2 separate regions of the Homo sapiens genome follow, and region 1 is linked to region 2. The links are contacts of gene promoters, found by promoter capture Hi-C in human tissues and cell types (Jung and others, 2019). All regions are on one chromosome and are shown on one strand. The core of a region is centred on a gene start or on the middle of the fragment in contact, and the rest is flanking DNA. Distances in the headings are between cores, read along the strand shown.

Region 1 (7,499 bases), core at 2,226-4,725, 270 kb after region 2:
AACAGCTCAGTTCTGGCACAGATCTTAGGGGGCGCAAGGCAGAGCCGCCCCTGGGGCCTGCCCCGCCTAGGCCTGCAGACGTGTTTTCCTCAGCCCCACCGGAGCTCACTGCGAGGGTAGCTTTTCACCGAGCCAAGGTGGCCCCTGTGCCCAGACAGCCCAGATTACAGTGGGCATACGCTGGGGCAGACGCCGGCAGGGCCGCCTTGTTATCTCAGACGCTGACGTCACCTGTCTGCGGGAGGTGCAGGGGGGCCACTTCCCGGGGCCAGGCAGGAAGCCCGCCCAGTGCAGAGAGGGAGGTGCCCAGGCCCATCTCAAGCTTGCTGGGCCCAGGGGACCAGAGCCCCTGGGTTCCCTGATGCAACCAGGCCCCACTCTGCACCCCGGGGCCTCCTAGGCTGGCCTGGCCCTGCCCCTCCGTCTGCCCTTCCCCAGCCCAAAGCCCGCAGGACAAGTGGACAGCCCAGGCCGGTTGCAGTCCTGCATGCTCTGCTGAGCTCCCTGAGTCCAGGTTTTGGGGGGCAGTGGCTTTGGGCCAGGGTTCAGGGGTTTATTTCACAGGTCCTTCCAGGTGCCCCACAGTTGCTGAGTGGGAGACTGGCACTGGGGACTGGTGACAAGAGACCTCCCGGGCAGGCCCCTGGCACGGGCTGAAGGACGGAAGCTGGAGGCAGGGAGAAGCCAAGGGCATTGGGTTTGCAGACTCCATGGGGCAGGACAGGAGGGACTGGATGCCTGGGGAGGTTGGGGCAGGACTGTACCCAAGACAGGGGATCAAGCCTAGTACAGAGCCGAGCAGCGGGAGGGACCACCCTGCCAGGCCAAGGGAGGAAGACCCGGGGCCTCCAGACACAGTGTACCAGAGGAGAACCCTTCCCATCCAGCATGGCCAAGCGGGACCCGTGTGGCACTTGAAGCTGGGTCCCTGGACTCACCACCTTCCCTCACTGGACCCCTCGGCAGCCATGCAGGTGGGGCTCACTCCCCTTTCTACTCGCCACCCTGCAGAGGAAGCTTCTTCTCGGCCAGCTGGCCCACCTGTGCCCCTCCCTCAGGAACCCCACCTGGCCCACCCCACAGCTCCTGTGTGTTCCCAGGGGCATCTGATCCTTCAGCCTGGCCCCTCTTTCCTCTCCAGCCACCTGTGCTGCCATTCCAGTGACAGCCAGGCCAAACTCCCTGCTGGGTCCCCAAATGTCAGGGCGTCTCTCTCACCTCTGTTCCCTCCTCCTGGAATGCCCTTCCTGCTGCCTCATGGCACGCTTCTCTTGGGCCGTTTCACAGGTGTCGCTTGGGGCTTGAGGATTTCAACCTCATGGGTTTTTAGATTAGAGTTAGAAAGAGGGGAGACCTTCACCTGGAGGCAATGATTCAAAGACAGGCAGATTACTTCTCTCCATCGACCCGCACAACCATCTTGGCAGCCCATTTTACAGAGAAGCCTAGACCAAAGGAATGAGGTGTCTTTCAAAGGCCACACAGAGCCAGGAGAGACTCTTCCCCACACTGACGTCCACTGGGACCCCAGCCTTAGTGCTCCCTGTGTGTGTCTGTCACTGTCATTGTGGAAAATAAAAGGTCCTGAAAGGACAGTCTCAGGTCCTGGTCCTGGTCTTAGATGTGACTTATGATGACTTCAAATCCATAAGACACAGATGCAGTGGGTAAATTGAGGCAGCCTCTTGTTTCTTAGCCAAAGAACTTGTTCAAGAAGTTTTCTTAGCAATGGGCTTCCAATTATCAAACCTGGATGATATAGAATTGTGGTGGAAAGGGTGGTAGATAGGTGGGTGGATAGATGGGTGGGTGAATTGATGGATGGATGGGTGAGCGGATGGATGGATGGATGGATGGATGGATAAATGGATGGATGGATGGATGATCGATGGATGGGTAGGTGGGTGAATGGATGGAGGTTGGAATGGATGGATGGATGGATGAGTGAATATGTAGGTGAGTGGAAGGATGTGTGGGATGGATGGGTGGATGAGTGGATGGGAAGGTGGTGTGTGAATGGATGAATGGATGGTTGAGATGGATGGATGATTAGGATGGATGGATGGATGGACGGATGAAAGGATGAGTGGGTAGAGGAAAGGATGAATGGATGGGTGAGTGGGGGATGTGGAGACATGAGGATGAATGTAGACGTATGAATAAGTAGGTGGATGAATGAAGAGCAGGTGGGTAGATGGAAGGGTGGATGAACAGTTGGATGGAGGAATGAATGGATCCTCAAATAGCACTTTCTTTGGCTAAGGTGTTGTAACCTTGAATCATGGAGAATGATTGCCAGGCACCCTCCACTCTGTGAGTCTCTGGTTCTCTGCCATGACCCCCAGGGCCATAGAGCAGTGTGGCTTCTCAATCCCCAAATAAGGTGGACAAAGTCCGCACTGGCAGGCCCAGGGAGCAGGAAGTCCGGGTGGGGTGGGAGGCCCTGCTCCCGGAGCTGAAGTCAGTTCCTTCTTTTCTAAACAATGAGGCCTGGCCTGATCTTTGCCGCACCTCCACCCTGCTCCACCCAAGCTCCCTCCACATCTGATGGGGCTCTGGGGCCCTCAGAGCTGGATGCAGGGAGCTGGGGGCTGGAGCAGGAGGGCCAAAAAGAGCAGGACCCACATAGTTTGCAAAAGGCTCAGTCGTGGAAATGCTGCCTTCCCTGCAGCCAAGGCTCCTGGAGCCAGTTTCCCCCAAGCTTCTTTCTGTAGGGAGATAGGAGCTGGGGGTTTGTTGGCCAAGACATGACTTTGGTTTCTTGTTTTCGTCTTTCTTCTTCAAGTCCATAGTTGGAAGGCCCTGCATCCCCTTCTCTCTCCTGTGTCCTCTTCCTTATGGTCATCCTGCTCTGTCCCCCCACTTCCCTTTCCTTGCCCCTCTCTCTGACCCACCATGGCCAGTCTGGCAGAGGAGGAGACTGGAAGAGTAGAGTAGGAAGGAAAACCAAGTCTGCCCTTGCCAGGGCACGGAGGACCAGACTTTCCAACCCAACCGTGGCTCCCAGTTTCAGTGACCAAGCTGGGGCTCTTAGGCCTAAGCAGGGGCTCTCCTCTGCTCCAGCTCTGTCTCCTGCATTGGCAGGAGAGAGCCTCTCCCACAGAGCTGTCCCTGGAACAGAAGGACAAGCTGAAAACCAGAGAATCTCCCCCTCTCGTGCTAAGGGTAGCCAGAGTGTTCCACGGCCCTGGAGACACCATCCACCACCCTCCCAGTGGGCTTCCTGGAAACCCAGAGATGGCTCCAGGGGCTCTGCCCTCCTGGGAAGCCACTTAGAGCCCAAAGAGCGCTTTCCACATGGAAATAAGGGGTCTCTTCTGAGGGTAGGGGTGCTGCAGTACAGAGCAGGGGCAGGGCCGGGAACTGGGGACACAGGCCTGTGTGGACTCAAAATGAACGAGGGCCGTCCTGTGCGTGCTCCACTCCAAATCCCATCTGCTCCCACACTGCTGGCCCAGGGAAAATCTGGGTAGTGACAGTGGCCGTCCCTCACGCCCTCCATGGCCAGGTGCCAGTAGCGTGTTCCACAAGCATCACCTTCGAAACCCTGAAGGAGTCAGGACTGTCGCTGTTCCAGACAAGGAGACTGAGGATGAGTCTCCATTAAGTGGCTTTCCCGCAGACACACAGTAAGTGGCACAAGAGTCAGGAGTTTGAGCCCGGGTCAGCCCAGCTCCAGCCATGGTCGCAGGGGCTGCCTGCAACCCCTGACGAGGGGCACCCCGGGGAGGCCTGGACCCAGCACCTGCAGCCCAACCTGGGCAGAGGCTGATCCAGCAGCTAGGAAGGGCATGGGTCCAGGAGATGGCAGAGCAGGGAACAGAGCGCTGCCGCTCAGGGTACTCCCGGGGAGCTGTGGTTCTCAGTGGAGGCCGCTCCCACACTGACACTCAGGCACCCTTTCACCTGCTGATGCCCAGACACTGCTGAGGCCAACACAACAGACCCACAGCCTGGGTCAGCACGGACAAGGGTGCTTCCTGGCTCCTCCTGACCATTGCTGAATGAATGATGGGTGAATGAATGAATTAACAAATGATGGCTGACTGATGAAAAGCAAGAACACAGATGGAACCAGAGCTTCTGGGGCGCGGAGGCAGGGGCACAACCCCCTCCCGTGCCGGAGTGCGCACACACACACACAGGGGTACACACATGCACGCACAGACACACATGCATACACACACATGCCCACACATGCAAACACACATTCATATACACACACGCCCACACACACAAACACACATTCATATACACACATGCCCACACATGCAAACACACATTCATATACACACGCACGCCCACACATGCAAACACACATTCATATACACACACGCGCAGCAGGCCTCCTTGGTCAAGGCCTCCAGAGCTTTGTCCTTCCTCACGGTTCCAGTGGCCCAGAAGACTCACCATGTTGCCTTGCCCCAGCCCAGGGCCCCAAGTGAGTGTATCAGGATCCCTGAGCCCGCCCCGAAATCCCCAGGTTTCCACCGCTCCCAGCAGGAAGCCGTGCTTCATGCATGAGGCCTCCCTCACCTGTTAATTTCCGCTGATCCTGCCAACCCCCAGGTGAGGGCAGCCATGGGGACCCCAGTGGCCCAGAGCTGGGCCCAGGAAAGGGACCAAAGGCCCAGGGGGCCTTGCTCCTGGAGCCAACTCCACTCAATGCCAGGGCACAGAGGGAAACCAGGCACTGTGGCCAGGCCCCTGGGAAGGGTCATGGGTGCATGCTCAGCAACCCTCGGCCATCATGTGGCTGCAGGCCCAGCCTGTTGCTAGGATTAGTCCCGGATTAGCCCACTGAGGTCCCAGAGGCTCGAGTGTCCTGGTCACCAGTGCTATAGAAACCTGGCCAGAGGCAGGGGGTGGAGACTGGTTCCTCCTTGGTGGGCTCTTCCCTCCAGGCCCAGTCTGAGCCTTACCCTTTCCTGAGCCAGCTCTGGAGTGCCTGGGGCCTGAGCTCCCACCCCCAGCCCTGCGGGAGCCCTTCTCCACAGAGCTCTGCACCTAGGGAAGTTGTAGCTTTCCAGAATCAGCTGTTTTCCAGATCCCGGAATGAAAACGGATGACCGATCATGTTGTGCCTGATGTGGAAAAGCGAAGCGTTTGTTCTCTCCCTTCTCAGATGCTCCTTAATACAGAAAACGTCAGAGCTGGTTCACCCTGCTGCCCCAGGAGCACCCTGGAGCTTCCCTCCCCAGGCCCAGCCCAAGCACCGCCTCCTGAGAACTCTCCTCCCCTCACTGACCCCTGTCCCATCTGTCTCTGCCCTGAAGGAACACCAAGTTGGGGCTGTGGGGCTGGGACCAGGCCTCGGAGCCAGGTAGCAGCCCATTGGGGGACAGCTCAAGAGGCTCCGAGAGCTCCCTGTGACATCTGAGAGGCCAGCAGGACGAAGGCCACAGCCAGCAGCCAGGACCTGACCACTTGCCCAGGCTGGTCTGAGCTCCTGGCCAGGGGCCTCTTGGCAACATGACCTGGCAGGTGCTGTCTGTCCATTATTCCCCTCTCACGGATGTCCCCGGCCTCTGTGGACATGACCGCCTAGCCCTGAAACTCCAAATGTACCTTTCTGCCTCTCCTCTTCTCTGTCAGGTGATGCCATCCTTCCCAGGGGCCTTCTGGGCTCTTCACTCCTCTAGGCCCTCAGCAAAGGCTCTCACTCTGCCCTCAGCACACACCAGGGTGCAACCACCCTCACTCCTCCACCAGTCCCTCCCAGTCACTCCCTTCTGTGTGTATCCCAGCAGGTGCCTCCACTTCTCCTCTTGCACTCTGGTCACTCAGCAGCCACAGGATCCCTTCACTCCTAAGCAGAGACCTCCACTAGCCCCACTTCTCTCCAAGAAAAAGCTGCATCCCCTTCAGGGCTTCCTGATGCCTTCCTGGGCAAGCTCCCCTTGGTTTCTCAGGTGTGTTTCTCAACAACCCATGCTTCCTCCCTATCCACCACTCCTCAGAGACGCCACATCACCTCTCTACAAGCCTTGTACCCGCTGCTCCTGCCATGAGATGCTCTCCCCCAGATGTCCATGTGAGTATGTGGTGGGGGCTAGAAAGGTATGTAGATGGGTAAATGGTTGGCTGGGTAGATGGCTGGATGCGTGGGTGGATGCATGGATCCATGGAAGGAAGGAAGGAAGGAAGGAAGAGAGGGAGGGAGGGCAAGAGGAAAGAAGGAAGGAAGGAAGGAAAGAAGGAAGGAAGAGAAGAAGGGAGGGAGGGAGGATGAATGGGTGCACAGATGGGTGCATGGATGGGTGCATGGATGGGTGCATGGATGGGTGGATGAACAGATGGATGGATGAACAGATGGATGGATGGATAAGTGGATGCATGGATTCATGGAAGTAAGGAAGGAAGGAAGGAAGGAAGGAAGGAAGGAAAGGAAGATGGATGGATGCATGGATGGGTGCATGGATGGATGGATGGATGCATGCATGGATGGAAGGAAGGATGGATGGGTGGATGGATACATGAACAAATGAGTGGGTGGATGGATGGATGGATGAATGGGTGGGTGGATGCATGGATGGGTGGATGCATGGATGGATGGAAGATAGATATATGGATAAATAAGTGGGTGTATGAATAGGTGGGTGAATGGACGGATGAATAGATGCATAGATGGGTGGATGCATGGATGGATGGATGGATAGATAGATAGATACATGGGTGAATGAGTGGATGTATGAATGAGTGGGTGAATGGATGGATGAATAGATGCATAGAGGGGTGGATACATGGATGGGTGGATAGATAGATAAATACATGGATGAATGAGTGGGTGTATGAATGGGTGGATGCATGCATGGATGGATGGATAGATGGATGGATAAATGGATACATGTAGGAGTGAGTGAATAGATGCTTGGATGGATGGATGGAAGAAAGGATGGATGGATAGATGAATACATGGATAATGACTGGGTGTATAAATGGATGGGTGGATGGTGGGTGGATGAATGAATGGATAGATGCCTGGATAAATGGATGGATAGATGCATGGATGGATGAATGGATGGGTGGATGCCCTTTCTCTGAATGCCAGCCAGGAACGTAGCCAAGTGGAAAGGCCCAGGTGGGCAGCTGTCTTCCCAGACCACTCACACTGACCTGAGAACAACTGCTGGGCCCCAGGTGTTGAAAGGGCAAAAAGAGATGTACCCAGCTGGACTGTGCAGGTGCTGGCTGCCCGTTGTTTTGAGCCATGCTCTGATTTGTTCCTCTGTGCCTGCTCTGGGGACTTGGCCACTCTGAGCCATCTGCAGGCTTCCCTGGTGTCCCCTGTACCCATACCACAAGCCAAGTTCCTCCAATGTCACCCTTGATTGCTGTCCCTTGTGTGACTCACACTGGTCCTCCCTGTGTGATCATAGGCTATTCGCCTCTGCCACACACCACACTCATCACCCAGGCTAATCTGGGTGGGAGGCAGACTTGTCCAGCGCTCACAGCTGCTGAGCCTCAGAGCCAGGCCAGACCCAAGGCCAGGACTC
Region 2 (3,744 bases), core at 1,245-3,744:
CAGGGAGGGCGGGGGATTCCCAGATCTGGGAGGGGAGACCCGAGAGCCCCCAGCGCCCAAGGGTCTCCAGGGCACTGTCCCCGGGAGCCATGAGGGAGGCCGGGTCCCGAGGGGCGGACGGCGCCACCTGGTGGCCATGCGCCCGCTGCACCTGCACCTCCCTGGGGTCCCGGCGGTCCGGAGGGACCCCGCACCTCCCCAGGCTTTGGGACCCCCAGCATCGGCAGCCAGCGCCCCCAGGGTCCTGGGGTTCTCCGGAGCAGCTTCTGGGTGGCCCCTGTGCTCCTCTGGGGACAAGGTCACCAGGCTGGCCCGGGAGTGCCGCTGGCCGGCCGCGGCAAATCACTGCAGGGGAGCTCTCCCCGCCCGGCCCTGACTGTTCTTAGACTAAAGGAGGGGGGACGCCAGCAAAGCGGGGGCACAGGGGAGGGGCGCACGCACACGCACACGCACACATGCCCGCACTCACAGATGGAGATTCTGTATTGGCAACTTATCCGGAATCTCAACCATAAAAATCTGGAGTGAAGCTACTTTAATCTCAGCATGTATACAGGCTCTGACATTTCAAAAAGAGAAGTTGCCTTGAAACTCCACGTAGGGAGGAGGCAGTGGCCTGTTTGAATCTGGCCGGCACAGTCCCGCTCCAGGGACCCTGCGGACCCAGCCCATTCCATCAGCCACCACCAGTAGGAGCGCTCCGCCAGCCACGTGTGGGACGCCGGACCCACCTGGGAGTGTCCCCCAGGAGCTGAGGGGCTGCCGAGGCCCGTGAGCTTCACTGCACACCCACACTGCATCTGCAGGGGACTCACCCAAAGGGTCCCCCGAACTCGACAAGCTCCGTCATTTGTGAGGCCCAGTGCAGAATGAAAATGTGCAGCATCTTGTTCCAAAATTAAGAATTTCAAGATGGCCCCAGCACGCATTAAACCAAGCAGGGACCCCTCTGAGCATGGGGCCCTGCGCACAGGGTGCAGCCTGGAAAGCTGGCCCTGACCTCCGCATCTCCTTTTTGTACCTATAATCCCTCCATTGTGCTGGCCCCTGTGTTCTGGGGACAGGCTGGGCTTCCCAGGCCATGCTGGCCTCCAGAGCCACAAAACTAGAGCTCCCAGCCTCGGTCCACTCGTCTGTAAAACACCTGGCCTGCTGACCTCACAGGGTCAACATGCGTGTGGGGCTGGAACCTGGACCCTCCCTCCCCTCCTTGAGCTGCAGCCCCCTCATCTGAACACTGGGGGTTTGGGTCCGTTCTGGGAGTGCAGCTGCCTCTCCCAGCCTGCCAGGGAGTGGGGCATTGATGCTGTGTGCGCGTGCGTGTGTGTGTGTGTGTGTGTGTGTGTGTGTGTGTGTGTGTGTGTGTGTCTGGAGTCATGGCAGGGTCCCTTTCTGTCTGTCTCCTTGCTCTGCCCCAGACTGGGGGGCTGCAGAGGTGAGGGTATCTGGCCTCAACAGCTGCTTATTCCCGATGGGATGGCCTGGGCTGGGCCCCTGAGGCCAGGCTGACTTGGACATGGCAAGAGGGGTCCCAGGCTCTTGTGGGCAAAGCAGGGGAGGCGCCAATGTGGAGGAACAGAGTCTCCTGGCTGGCTGCTGCTCTCTGGAGCGGGTGGAGTCAGGGAAGAGCTGAGCTGGGGAGTCACCCTGGGCCTGGGGTCACCGTAGGCCCCATGTAGCACCCTGGTTCCCCTGCCTGTAGGTGACAGGAGCCAGCCCAGCCAGGTGTGCTCCCTCCCCAGGCCCTAGGCAGGCGGGTACAGGGGCCAGCAGCTGCGCCCGCCCCACCTTCCTTCCCACCCACATGCCGAAGGGTGGCCAGGCAGGCAGGTGGACGAGTCCAGGCAGCGGCTGAGTCAGTGTGTGTGGAATGTTCTGGCCGCTCCCAGCTGCACCCTGCCCCTACCTGCCACCACCTCACCTTCATCCTCAGGCGCTGCGGCCCTGAGCCCCTGCCAGGAATGCACCTTTAGCCCAGGCCTGCTCAGTGAGCTCCGCCGACAGCCAGCCCTGCTCCTCCCGCCATGACCCTGCAGACCCCTCTGGGCTTCCAAGTTCCTGGGGGCTGCAGTGAACATGCTCCACCTGCATGGCTGGCAAACCATGGTGGGCCCCAGCTGTGGTGCGTGCTGGGGTAGAGGCAAGGAAGTGATGGGACCGCAGAGATGAGACCCCCAGGGATGAGATGGGACCCCCAGGCAGGGCCCAGGGTCCAGGGCCCAGGAGAGAGAAGCAGGGAGGGAGAGAGCTTCCTGGTGGAGGACGCATCCTACAGTGGGGGCAAGGGTGCTCTGAGGTCCGGTGAAGGCAGGGACTAGGCTGCCCAGGCCCTGCCTGCTTGGCTGGGGCTGGGGGCTGCTGGGAGGTGGCTGGGAGGCTGGGCCTGGGCAGCTAAGCTGGAGCTTTGGCCAGGGTCCAGAGCCTCCCTCCCTTCAGCTTCCTGCTGCACAGAACCCTCGCCCCTGGCCACCCCGTGCTGCCTCCTTGCCCTGGCAGACCCAGCACTGGCTGCTGCTAGTCAGATGGGGTAGCGGGCAGGGGCCGGAGGGGCCACCCTCCCAGCTGACCCAGCCTCCTGGGCCGCTTCTTCCAAACCAGCAGGGTAGAAAGATGGGGCACCCACCAGTCTCTCCCAGTGCCCCGGCCCCAGCTGGCACCACAGCTATACCTGGGCTTATTCCAGACCTTGTCGCCGGGACCCCCTGTGAGTTGTGGGATTCCCAAGAGGGGTGTGGGGATAACCCAGCCAAGTGGGGGCTGCAGCTGTCCACAGATGCACTCAGCCTGGCCTCTACCCCAGGGCCCCGCTGGGCTCTCATTGCCGGCGCCCTTGCCGCGGGCGTCCTCCTCGTCTCCTGCCTCCTCTGTGCTGCCTGCTGCTGCTGCCGCCGCCACAGGAAGAAGCCCAGGGACAAGGAGTCCGTGGGTCTGGGCAGTGCCCGCGGCACCACCACCACCCACCTGGTGAGGAGCGGCTCCTTGCTCACTCAGTCCAGAGAGGGCTTGAAATCCAGGCTCCAGAGCCCAGGGCAGCGAGGCGAGTTCAGCCCCAGGGATGGTTTAACCCCCACAGAGGCAGGGCGTTGAGGACCTTCCTGGCAGGGAAAGTGGGTGAACAGAGGTGAGAAGGAGGCCATGCAACAGGGGCTGCCCCATGGGCCCGAGGGAGCCACAGCGGGTTCTTGAGGAAGGCAGGGGGTACCCCAGATGCCACGTTTTGGGTGGGTTTGGCCGGTCTCACAGAGCGAAGCCGACGATTTGTGCCTGTTGGGTGGCCTGGCCTGGAGGCGGGGGGTCTTGACCCATGTCATGCAAGGGCTGCCCGGGAGCCCAGGGCTCTGATGAGGCATGATGTCAGCACCACCTGCCCCTTGTCCCAACTCACTCCAGGTGCAACCTGATGTGGATGGCCTGGAGTCCAGCCCGGGGGATGCTCAGCAATGGGGGTGCCTGCAGCTCTCCCTGGAGTTCGACTTTGGAAGCCAGGAGGTGAAGGGCCCCGCTGCGCAGGACCAGCGGTTCTGCGAGTTTCCGGAAAGGGTGACGGGGGAAGGGCAGACCCCATGCCCTGGGTGGTGGGGAGCTGACAGGGCAGGGGCCCTTGGCTGAGCCCACCCCGCTGGCTCCCAGATCAGGGTGGGCCTGAGGCAGGCAGCCGACCTGAGGCCTGGGGGCACCGTGGACCCCTATGCCCGGGTCAGCGTCTCCACCCAGGCCGGACACAGACATGAGACAAAAGTGCAC

Evidence for each region. Contacts are between HindIII fragments. The study calls those that stand out against the background at their distance.
Region 1: a contact is called between a fragment that was not itself captured here and the fragment with the promoter of SYT8 in region 2, in 2 of the 25 tissues and cell types used here (H1 embryonic stem cells and lymphoblastoid cells).

The regions. Positions count from the first base shown.
Region 1 is chr11:2,100,345-2,107,843 of GRCh38, forward strand. No RefSeq gene overlaps it. Among named protein-coding and RNA genes, the nearest start is that of MIR483, 30 kb to the right of the region's middle. RefSeq lists enhancers at 1-129, 130-771. The HindIII fragment of the contact is 7,700 bases long and covers 1-7,325 here.
Region 2 is chr11:1,832,496-1,836,239 of GRCh38, forward strand. It overlaps SYT8 (synaptotagmin 8), which reads left to right and starts at 2,495. Exons shown (of 8, transcript NM_001394072.1): 1 at 2,495-2,704; 2 at 2,801-2,964; 3 at 3,391-3,489; 4 at 3,631-3,744. The coding sequence starts at 2,611. RefSeq lists silencers at 24-233, 294-353 and enhancers at 456-1,071, 1,072-1,685. The HindIII fragment of the contact is 28,273 bases long and covers 1-3,744 here.